Regions from separate parts of the Homo sapiens genome. Here region 2 is linked to region 1. The links are contacts of gene promoters, found by promoter capture Hi-C in human tissues and cell types (Jung and others, 2019). All regions are on one chromosome and are shown on one strand. The core of a region is centred on a gene start or on the middle of the fragment in contact, and the rest is flanking DNA. Distances in the headings are between cores, read along the strand shown.

Evidence for each region. Contacts are between HindIII fragments. The study calls those that stand out against the background at their distance.
Region 2: a fragment that was not itself captured here is called in contact with the fragment with the promoter of TLCD1 in region 1 in 1 of the 25 tissues and cell types used here (mesenchymal stem cells).

What each region holds. Positions count from the first base shown.
Region 1 is chr17:28,724,562-28,729,476 of GRCh38, reverse strand. TLCD1 (TLC domain containing 1) reads left to right here and starts at 3,244. Exons shown (of 4, transcript NM_138463.4): 1 at 3,244-3,573; 2 at 3,914-3,996; 3 at 4,091-4,173; 4 at 4,584-4,915. The coding sequence starts at 3,380. NEK8 (NIMA related kinase 8) reads right to left here and starts at 689. Exons shown (of 15, transcript NM_178170.3): 1 at 617-689. The coding sequence starts at 663. RefSeq lists enhancers at 2,261-2,984, 2,985-3,708, 3,876-3,925, 4,046-4,345, 3,709-4,432 and 3 more and a silencer at 2,936-3,465. The HindIII fragment of the contact is 6,466 bases long and covers 727-4,915 here.
Region 2 is chr17:29,065,781-29,070,530 of GRCh38, reverse strand. No RefSeq gene overlaps it. Among named protein-coding and RNA genes, the nearest start is that of PIPOX, 25 kb to the right of the region's middle. The HindIII fragment of the contact is 5,950 bases long and covers 1-4,577 here.

The sequences.
Region 1 (4,915 bases), core at 1,995-4,494:
GGCTGAGGCACAACGATTGCTTGAACCCAGGAGGTGGTGGTTGCAGTGTGCCAAGATCGTGCCACTGAACTCCAGCCGGGGTGACAGAGGGAGACTCTGTCTTAAAAATCAATCAAGCAAGCAAGCAATCTCCCTTCTCAGAGAATTCTTCCTTGACCATCTCATATAAGTATTCTCACTGGTAATGTACTCTATCCTCACAACCTGCTAATAACACTTCATAACTGCTATAACTTCTTACTTCATAATGTTTTGTTTATTGTATAACTTTCCCACAGTCAGTAAGTTCCAAGAGGGAAAAGACCACGCCCGTTCCGGTTCTAACTATATACCCAGCGGCCAAAGCCTGACATACATAGCTGGCACTCAGTATTTGTTGAACGAATGAATAAAGAAGCTAACATAACTCAGTGGGCGGAGCAATGGGCCTGTCAGGGGCGTGGCCTCCGTAGAGGCGGAGTCTCCCCGGGGGACTGGGACCGGAAGCTTGGGCGGGGCTTCCCAGAGTGGCGCTCACGCCTTGGGGCGGGATTAGGCGGGCGGCGACTTCGCGGGCGGAATTGGGGCTTATTTTCCCTATCCCCTAGCAGTTTCCTCCCCCAGAGCCCTGGCTCACCCGAAGGCACCTCTCCCCACCACTCGGATCCGCTCGTACTTCTCCATCTCATTTCTTAGAGTTTCACTTCCGTCCCCCACGCGGCGCGTGCGCGGACCCACCCACTCTGGGCCCCGCCCCTTCACGGCGAGCGGCTTGCGGGGCGGAGCCAGCGCCCTAGGTGTGGGTTCCGCCACGCGTCCGTATTTGTGGGCCTGCACCACACACCTCCCGCTGCGACACGCCGTCACTTTTCCCCTCACGACCCTGCCCCACGCAGTGTCCAAGAATAGGGCAAGAAAATAGGGCGCGCCCGCAATGGCGGGCACGGTACCCGCCCCTCCCACACATATACCCAGCCCTTGTAAAGCTTGCTAGACTAAAAGGATGTCGCGTTCCCGAGAGTTAAACCCCACAGGCCGGGAAGGGGTGGGAAGAGAAGATTGACCCCCTTCTTGCCCACGAGTGACGCTATTTCAGGAGAAAGCGGGTTCTCCTTGGCACGCAAACGATAAACACACCCAAAACGACCGAGACCAGCGCTCCTGGGAGAAGGCAGCAGGGTTGGTTTCGTGTTTGCCTGGGGAGGGACGGGGGAAATCCCAAGTCGTGCAAGTTGATTCACCTGAAGAGGACATGACACGGTCTCGGGCCGTCCCGACTAGTGAGCGCCGCGCTCGTCAGCACTCTCAACTCCCCTTTCACACACGCGCTGCAGGAGGGTAATCTGCCCTCAGTGCTCATCTTCCCATGGGGGAAGATGGGGGCGGTAGTGGGTCAGTACCTGAAAGCATCAAGGGGAGAAGGAAAGACCGCGGTTTCGCCGAAATGAGCTCAAGGCAAAAGCCTAGAGGCAGGGGGCTGGTTAGTGTGACCAGCTAGGCTCTTTACCGGAAGTGAGGTTAATTCCAGGTTCTCCCGGGCTCCTGCTCTGCGGGAGCTCTAGAAAAACTCAGTATTCGGCCAGGCGCGGTGGCTCACGCCTGTAATTCCAGCACTTTGGGGAGGCCGAGGCGGGCGGATCACCTGAGGTCAGGAGTTTGAGACCAACCTGGCCAACATGGTAAAACCTCGTCTCTACTAAAAATACAAAAATTAGTTGGGCACGGTGGCGCGCGCTTGTAATCCCAGCTACTCGGGAGGCTGAGGCAGGAGAATCGCTTGAATCTGGGAGGCGGAGGTTGCAGTGAGCCGAGATCGTGCCATTGCACTCCAGCCTGGGCGATAGAGTGAGCCTCCATCTCAAAAAAAAAAAAAGAAAGAAAGAAAACATCAGTATTCAGGAGGAGGATGGTCACTAGCTGAAGGTTAGCGTCCCTGTATCAGAGTGGGCAAGGGGTGTGAGGAAAGGGGCGTTTTATCTTCTGCCCCTGTCCTGGCTCTCGCAAGGGTATCCAAACCCACCCACGTGGAATGACTGCTGGAAGGGCGCTGGCTCAGGCCGGTGTCGGCCGGCGGACAGAGCAGCTCTGTGAGCCAAGGGGAGGGGCGGGAAAGCCGCTCACCCAGGACACCCGTGTTCTCACCTAGAAACCGACTGGGCTTTGGTTGACTTAAGAGTCCCACAGGGGTTAATGTGTAACCTTGGAGCCATAGGGGAGGAAAACACTCAAACGGCTTGGTCCCTGGGTCCTTGCGCCTCAGGTTTTCTCGGCTTCTTCCTCCCGCCCGCAGCACCTTTCCCCTCCCCCGCTTCTTCCCGCCCCTCCTCTATTACTACCCTCTTCTCCCTCCCCGCTCTCATCTCCGCTTAACTTCCCTCGCTGGCTCTCAGCTGCTCCTCCTTTCGCCCAGAGTTTATACCTAAACTCTCCCCGAAAGCAGCTGCCTCGCTCGGAGGCGGGAGGGGGAGCCCGCGCCACAGTGAGGGCAGGCTGACACCTAGTGGCTAGGAGCCGCAACTGCTGCAAGCTACCGGCTTGGAGAGCGCGGGTCACTCCAGCTGTCCCGGCAAATCGGAGGTCTTGCTTGCCCAGCCTCCGGGGAGCCGGGCCGAGGGCCGGGACTGTCTGAGGGAGGACTGTGACAGCCGCCCGGCCCCAGGAGTTTAAGAGCCGGCGGGAAGAGGTGGCGATGGGTTACTCAGCAGTTCCCAAGTGCCCACCTCGCGGGCGCGGGAGGGACAGGTAAACACGGGACTCCGGCCAGAAGACTGCGAGTGGTGCGGTAGGGGCACTGGGTCTGCACGGAGACCACTGTCGGACGCGGGGCTCCGGAGCCCACCCCAGGACCAGGACTTAGGGGGCGTGGGCGTGTCGGGTCCCGTCCAGCTCTGCGCAGAAAGTAGAGGGCGGAGAGAGCTCTCGCGGTACCCGCCCAGGGCGGGGTAGCCGGTGGCCCGGGGAAAAGTGGGGACGCGGGTTAATGAGGCCAGGCGAGCGAGGGCAGCGGGGACTCCGTCGGCAGTCGGGAGGCGCCAGCGAGGGGTGTCTCGGCGACGACGCCCCCAGCACAGCTCCTAGTTACCCGAAGTCCGCGGGAGCCGGCCGGTGGCCGAGAGGCCACGGGGACACCCGGCTCGCGCGGCAGCAGCGCCTGAGGGGCGGGGGCAGGCGGACGGGGCGGGGGCAGGCGGGCGGGGCGGGGGCGCGGGCGGCTGGGGGCGGGGGCAGAGGCCTCGCAGGGAGGGCGAGGAGGAGCCAAGGGGCCTAGAGGGCTTCGCCAACTGTGTGGGGCTGGCGGCCGGCGGGAGAGGCGGCCGGCCTGGACTGGCCCGAGAGGGATCCCGGTTCCCAGAACAGACCTAGGAGGCGGCCTCGAGGGCGGACGGCAGGGAGGGCCAGCATGCCCCGACTGCTGCACCCCGCCCTGCCGCTGCTCCTGGGCGCCACGCTGACCTTCCGGGCGCTCCGGCGCGCGCTCTGTCGCCTGCCCCTACCCGTGCACGTGCGCGCCGACCCCCTGCGCACCTGGCGCTGGCACAACCTGCTCGTCTCCTTCGCTCACTCCATTGTGTCGGGGATCTGGGCACTGCTGTGGTGAGTGAGCGACTGTGGAAATGAGGTGGCCAGGGGATCCTGAGCGGGGAGCCGGGGCCGGCTCTTGTGTTACTACCCCCATCGCTCACTGGCGGGCTGAGGCCACGCAGTCTCACCTGATCCCGTTTGGTATCCTATCCAACCAAAAGCCGCAGTGGCCCCAGGGGAGGGGGATCGCCCCTGGGAAACTGGAGGCTCTTGGGTTTTGCCCAGCCACTCTTAGCTTCCCAGTCAGCCACTAGCGCGAGCCCAGGATCCCCCGGGGCTGCGAAGGGTAACCGAGAAGTTGATGGTCCTTGAGGGTGCCGAAATGCAGAGCCTCCTCTTCCCTCCTTTCCAGTGTATGGCAGACTCCTGACATGTTAGTGGAGATTGAGACGGCGTGGTCACTTTCTGGCTATTTGCTCGTTTGCTTCTCTGCGGGTAGGTCTTGCCCAGGAAGCGGGAGGCAAATTGGGGACAGGGAGAAGGAAGCTGCTTGTTCAGTTCATGATCTCTTGCCCCATCCCTCCACTAGGGTATTTCATCCACGATACGGTGGACATCGTGGCTAGCGGACAGACGCGAGCCTCTTGGGAATACCTTGTCCATCACGTCATGGTAAGAGAGAAGCAGACTATGTGGTATAGGCCTGGTGTCAGTAATCTAGTCTCAGCTCCGTCTTTCTGAATCTGGGAGAAGGCCGTGTTTTCTTACCACCCACCCCCGACCTGTGTGCTACTTCTTATGCTAGGATGCTGGAGGTTGGCAGTCTGTACTTGTTCACTGAGGCCAGCAACCCATGGTTTCACTGCCTCTTTAGACTGAACATCACCCACAGCCAGCTGTGAGCAGCAATCAAAATCTAGTAATGTTGAACTAACAAAACAAAGCATCTTACCCACTATAAACTATTATTCCAGGGGGAAATTTGGGATTTTCCAGCCCTCAATCTGATAGCCACACCCCCCAAACTTCCAGGAAAGCGTCTGCATCTGGGTTCCCTAACTCCTATTCTTTCTTCCCTCTAGGCCATGGGTGCCTTCTTCTCCGGCATCTTTTGGAGCAGCTTTGTCGGTGGGGGTGTCTTAACACTACTGGTGGAAGTCAGCAACATCTTCCTCACCATTCGCATGATGATGAAAATCAGTAATGCCCAGGATCATCTCCTCTACCGGGTTAACAAGTATGTGAACCTGGTCATGTACTTTCTCTTCCGCCTGGCCCCTCAGGCCTACCTCACCCATTTCTTCTTGCGTTATGTGAACCAGAGGACCCTGGGCACCTTCCTGCTGGGTATCCTGCTCATGCTGGACGTGATGATCATAATCTACTTTTCCCGCCTCCTCCGCTCTGACTTCTG
Region 2 (4,750 bases), core at 353-2,852, 340 kb before region 1:
ACACTTCGTCACCTTTTATATAGCAACACATTCCAGACAAGTCTATGATAATTTGTCCTTGCCTGCTTCTACTGGCGGCCACCCTGACTCCTTCCATCTTCTCCTAGGACATATTTTCTAAAACCTCCAGCCTGGTGGGCAGTCCGACACGTTCGGTAATGTACCAAGCTCTGCCGCCTTTCAGGCTGCTGCCTTTTCACCTCCAGAGTGGTGCCCCCGTGCAGTAATGAAAACAAAGCAAAAATAGACAAAACCTGCCAAACTGAGTTCTTCTGCGTCTAGCACTGCGACCTTGGAGAAGGGGCTTAACCTGTCAGGCCTCAGTTTCCCCATCTGTGAAACAAGGTAGTATTGCTGGCAAGAACCTTCTGGCTTCTAAATTCAGAGCTCCTTACCACAGCCAAAAGAATCTCCCACGCCCTCCCCCTTCATCCCCCCTAGTGAGGGACTGACAGTTGATGCCCAGTGGGGCTTCGAGATCCGGGTGCTGTGGAAGAAACGTTGTGCATGGTCTGTCGGGAGTTAGTTTCCATTCAGACACTCGGTTGAACCTCGAGGTCCTCTCATTTCCTCTTCTTCCCTAGCCCGCTCTGCCAGTCCAGGCTTGTGCCCTACCATTCACTGGGAAACCGAGAGCTCGTTAGCATATTCATATATATATTTGCATATCCACTTTTCATTGGCGCACGTGGCCCTCTGGTCCCGCCCCTGCCTGGAGGTTCTTTACGCACTTCCCAGAAGCCACTCCCCTTAAAAGAAATGGGTTTTCAAGCCGCCGATGGGCAGCCCATCTGTGTTGCCCTTTTAATGATTACAGCGGCATTAGGACAGGTCTACTCTCCGAGCAACCCGGAAATAATGTTTCCCGCCCTTTTAAGGGCCCTTGGAACTCTGGCCTGAGCTGAGGCCCAGAGTCAGTGACTGGGACTGACAGGCCCCTTCCTACCCTGTCAGTAGTGAGAGGAGGGTAATAAGAGCAATAATTGGCCGGGTGCGGTGGCTTACGCCTGTAATCCCAGTACTTTTGGGAGGCCGAGGAGGGTGGATCACCTGAGGTCAGGAGTTCAAGACCAGCCTGGCCAACATGGTGAAACCCCATCTCAACTAAAAACAATACAAAAATTAGCCGTGCGTGGTGGCAGGCACCTGTAATCCCAGCTACTTGGGGGGCTGAGGCAGGAGAATCGCTTGAACCCGGGAGGCAGAGGTTGCAGTGAGCCAAGATCGTGTCATTGCACTCTGGCCTAGGGGACAAGAGAGAGACTTCATCTCAAAAAAAAAAAAAAAGGACCAACAACAGTTCCCATTTGTTGAGCACTTACTATGATGACCCCAGCGCTTAAGCACTTTGCCCTACAAAATCTCATTTCACCTCCATCACAACTCTGTGAAGACGTCATCCTGGAAAGAAAACTGAGGCTGAGGGGTGATGTCATCTTTCTAAGCAGAGTCCTCAACTTGCTTCCAGCAGCTGGCCAGGCGTCTCCTAACTATTCTGGCCTTGGCAGAGGATGCAGTGAGAGGCAAGAAAGCAAAGAATCACTACCATGGTCCTCATCTCAAATCGCGTGTGCCTGGCATTCGCCAAGTCCTGGCCTCAGAAAGGAAACGCTTCTTGGCAATTTGGGGGGAAAATATCTACTTCACATTTGCGTCGCGCTTCACAATTTTCAGAGCATCCCCCATATATTATCACATTTTCACTTCACTCCCACTGTGCCAGCAATATGAATAACAGTTCCACATCGCTCAGAATGCATATTTTAAGCTATATTCACTTCAGTCTAATTTCATTACAGTACAACAACAATCCAGACCATTCCCTGCTATTTGATCTGGGAGGAAAGATTTCCAGAGCAGTAGCCATTTTGGAGTTAACAAGGATACTGGATGTGTTTAGAAGGAATTGTACAGAGAAATTGAGTCTTCTGTAGCGTGAGCCCCAGAGATGGGTCATAAACATAAGGGAGATTCCAAAAAGAGTGTGTGCTTTGCGACTGAAGTCAGTCACATAAATCCCCCAGTGGAATACTTATATGTGCAGATAGAATTTGCTGTAGATATCAAAAGTCAGCTATGACAGTTTTAGAAGAAAAGAAAATTCAAAAAGGATATTACGTTTTGACACTATCCAGCCAAATTATATTTGAAGTGGCTTAAGAGTCAAAGAGTTTCCACATTTTAAGAAATTTTTATATGTTTTGTGCCACATCTATGATCTGACTAGATTAGGAAAAGCAGCAAATGGATTTGGGAAAGAGAGGACACTAGGGAATTTGAAAATGGAAATTTAAAAAAAAAAGGAGTTAAGGCTGAGGTGGGTGGATCACCTGGAGTCAGGAGTTCGAGACCAGCCTGGCCAAGATGGTGAAACCCCCTCTCTACTAAAAATACAAAAATTAGGCCGGGCACGGTGGCTCACGCCTGTAATCCCAGCACTTTGGGAGGCTGAGGCGGGTGGATCACGAGGTCAGGAGATCAAGACCATCCTGGCTAACACGATGAAACCCCATCTCTACTAAAAAAATACAAAAAATTAGCCGGGCATGGTGGCGGGTGCCTGTAGTCCCAGCTACTCGGGAGGCTGAGGCAGGAGAATGGCATGAACCCAGGAGGCGGAGCTTGCAGTGAGCAGAGATCCGAGCCACTGCACTCCAGCCTGGGCGACAGAGCAAGACTCCGTCTCAAAAAAAAAAAAAAAAATTAGCTGGGCGTGTTGGCGGGAACATGTAATCCCAGCTACTCGGGAGGCTGAGGCAGGAGAATCCCTTGAAGGTGGAGTTTGCAGTGAGACGAGATCATGCCATTGCACTCCAGCCTGGGCGACGGGTGAGACTCTGTCTCAAAAAGAAAAAAAGGAGTTTAAAAAAATCTCTGCATGGGGAAGATATAGCCAATAGCTTCGGAAACATTAGCACTTTGAAAGACCGGTGAGTGACAGGCAGCCAGGCAAATATAAAATTGTATGTGATGAAAGAGGTCTCATGGCTCATCTTAACCCTGGGGCCTGGCATCAACTGCAGGTTGGCACCCTTGCTTGAGGACTGCTGGGGGACTACTGTCCAAGGAAGAGTGACCCTAGTGAGTGCACTCCCTGGAAGGTTCTGCCCTGGAAGCACAGGTCTCATGGCCTGCCTTTGTGGGTTCCGGAGAACATCTGTGGGAGCTACTGTTTCTGGTGGAAACATACTCAGCCACTGGGCAGGTTTTAATAGTAGAAAGGAGCTTCTGCTCCCAGGAACCGACAAAATAAGCCTAGAGAACCAACTAGAAAGTGAGGCAGTCTTACAGCTCTGTTAATGGGTTCCTAAGGTTACATATAGACATGACAAAAGTAGAAGGGAAAACACAGATCAATAAATAAATATTAGAAGGGACCTCTGAAAACTATAAGTAGTTTTACCTGGGGATGTGGGGTTATAGATGAAGTGGCTGTGCTTTCAATACCAAGTTTTCATACAATTTTTAAAAGTCAGTACAGATGTGTGTAGCAACACCAAAGAAGGCCCCAAATTGTCATATTAGCATGATTATAAGAATCACTTCTTTCCCAACATTTCATATACAGAAATCATAGCAGGCGGGTGGGCGGGAGGGGGTAAACCGTGTGGCAAAGCTGCTTAGAAACTGCTTAGATCCCTTGCTCAGGGAAAGCCATTCTTAAAGCAGCAGGCTTCTCTCGGCATGGCTGAGAGGGAAGCTGGAAGAGGAACAGATTGGAGGGTGGAACATGAACAGGGTATTTAGGGGAGGCGAGCAGCGCAGATGAGACAAGAGCATCTAGATCAAGCCCTCCCATGCAGCTGAGAGCCCTGCAGGTGATCGGTTTAGGTGAGGCTGTTTTTGTTAAAGGGACTGGCAGTGGGGTTGGGATGAGGAGGAGCCAAGAGTTGAGAAGGTCATTTAGGACATTTGTGTCATAGTGATATACTTTTTTTTTTTTTTTTTTTTTAAGATCTGCAAGGTGGGGACATGGCTCAGTGGCCAGACTTTGTGCCTGGCTGGTAGATTTGTGCTTCTAATACATGGTTCCATCTAAGAAGGTGTAGCCCCTTAGGGAAGTATTGTTGCTGACTTGAGTGACCAGTGAGTTTCTCTGAGAAATTGGAAAATGTGGGATCCCTAGTAAAAGGGAAGCCCAGGGGTTGAGGCATCCTGGCAGGTCTGGGAGGAGCAAGTCCCCTGGGGTGTGGGTGTGATCTCCCTCTCCCTCCCCACCCCTACTCCTTGCTCCCCAGCAGAAATCAGCTACAAATCTCAGCTTGTTGGGAACAGATGGCCTTGGCTGACGAATAAACCACCGCAGGCTGCTCCACCTGTTCTCGGGCTGGAATAATCAGCTCGAGACAAACATCAGCGCTGAAATAACTCATGGCAGCGGGTGATGCGCAGGCACTGATTCCAAAAATCTCTTAAGCAGCCCCCCTCCAACTCTCCCCTCCCCAGCCCCTAGAGGCCATGGGGGAAGGTAATGGAGCACAGAAGACAGATAGAGCCCCAAACTGAGCAGGAGGCCGGAGCTAGTAGTGCCACCAGCGGAAATGGGTGGAGGACAGGGCTGAGATGTGCGGCAGGGTGGGGGCATCCACTTCAGTGGTGCAGGAAATTATTTCTCAGGAGCACGTGGAGAACATGGGCATTCCTGTGTTGGTCCATGGGCCAAGGCTGAGGAGACTCAACTAGTCCAGGATGGTAGATACCTGAGCATTTAGGATTCATTTGATTTGTTCATTGAAGGAGTGATGTGCAA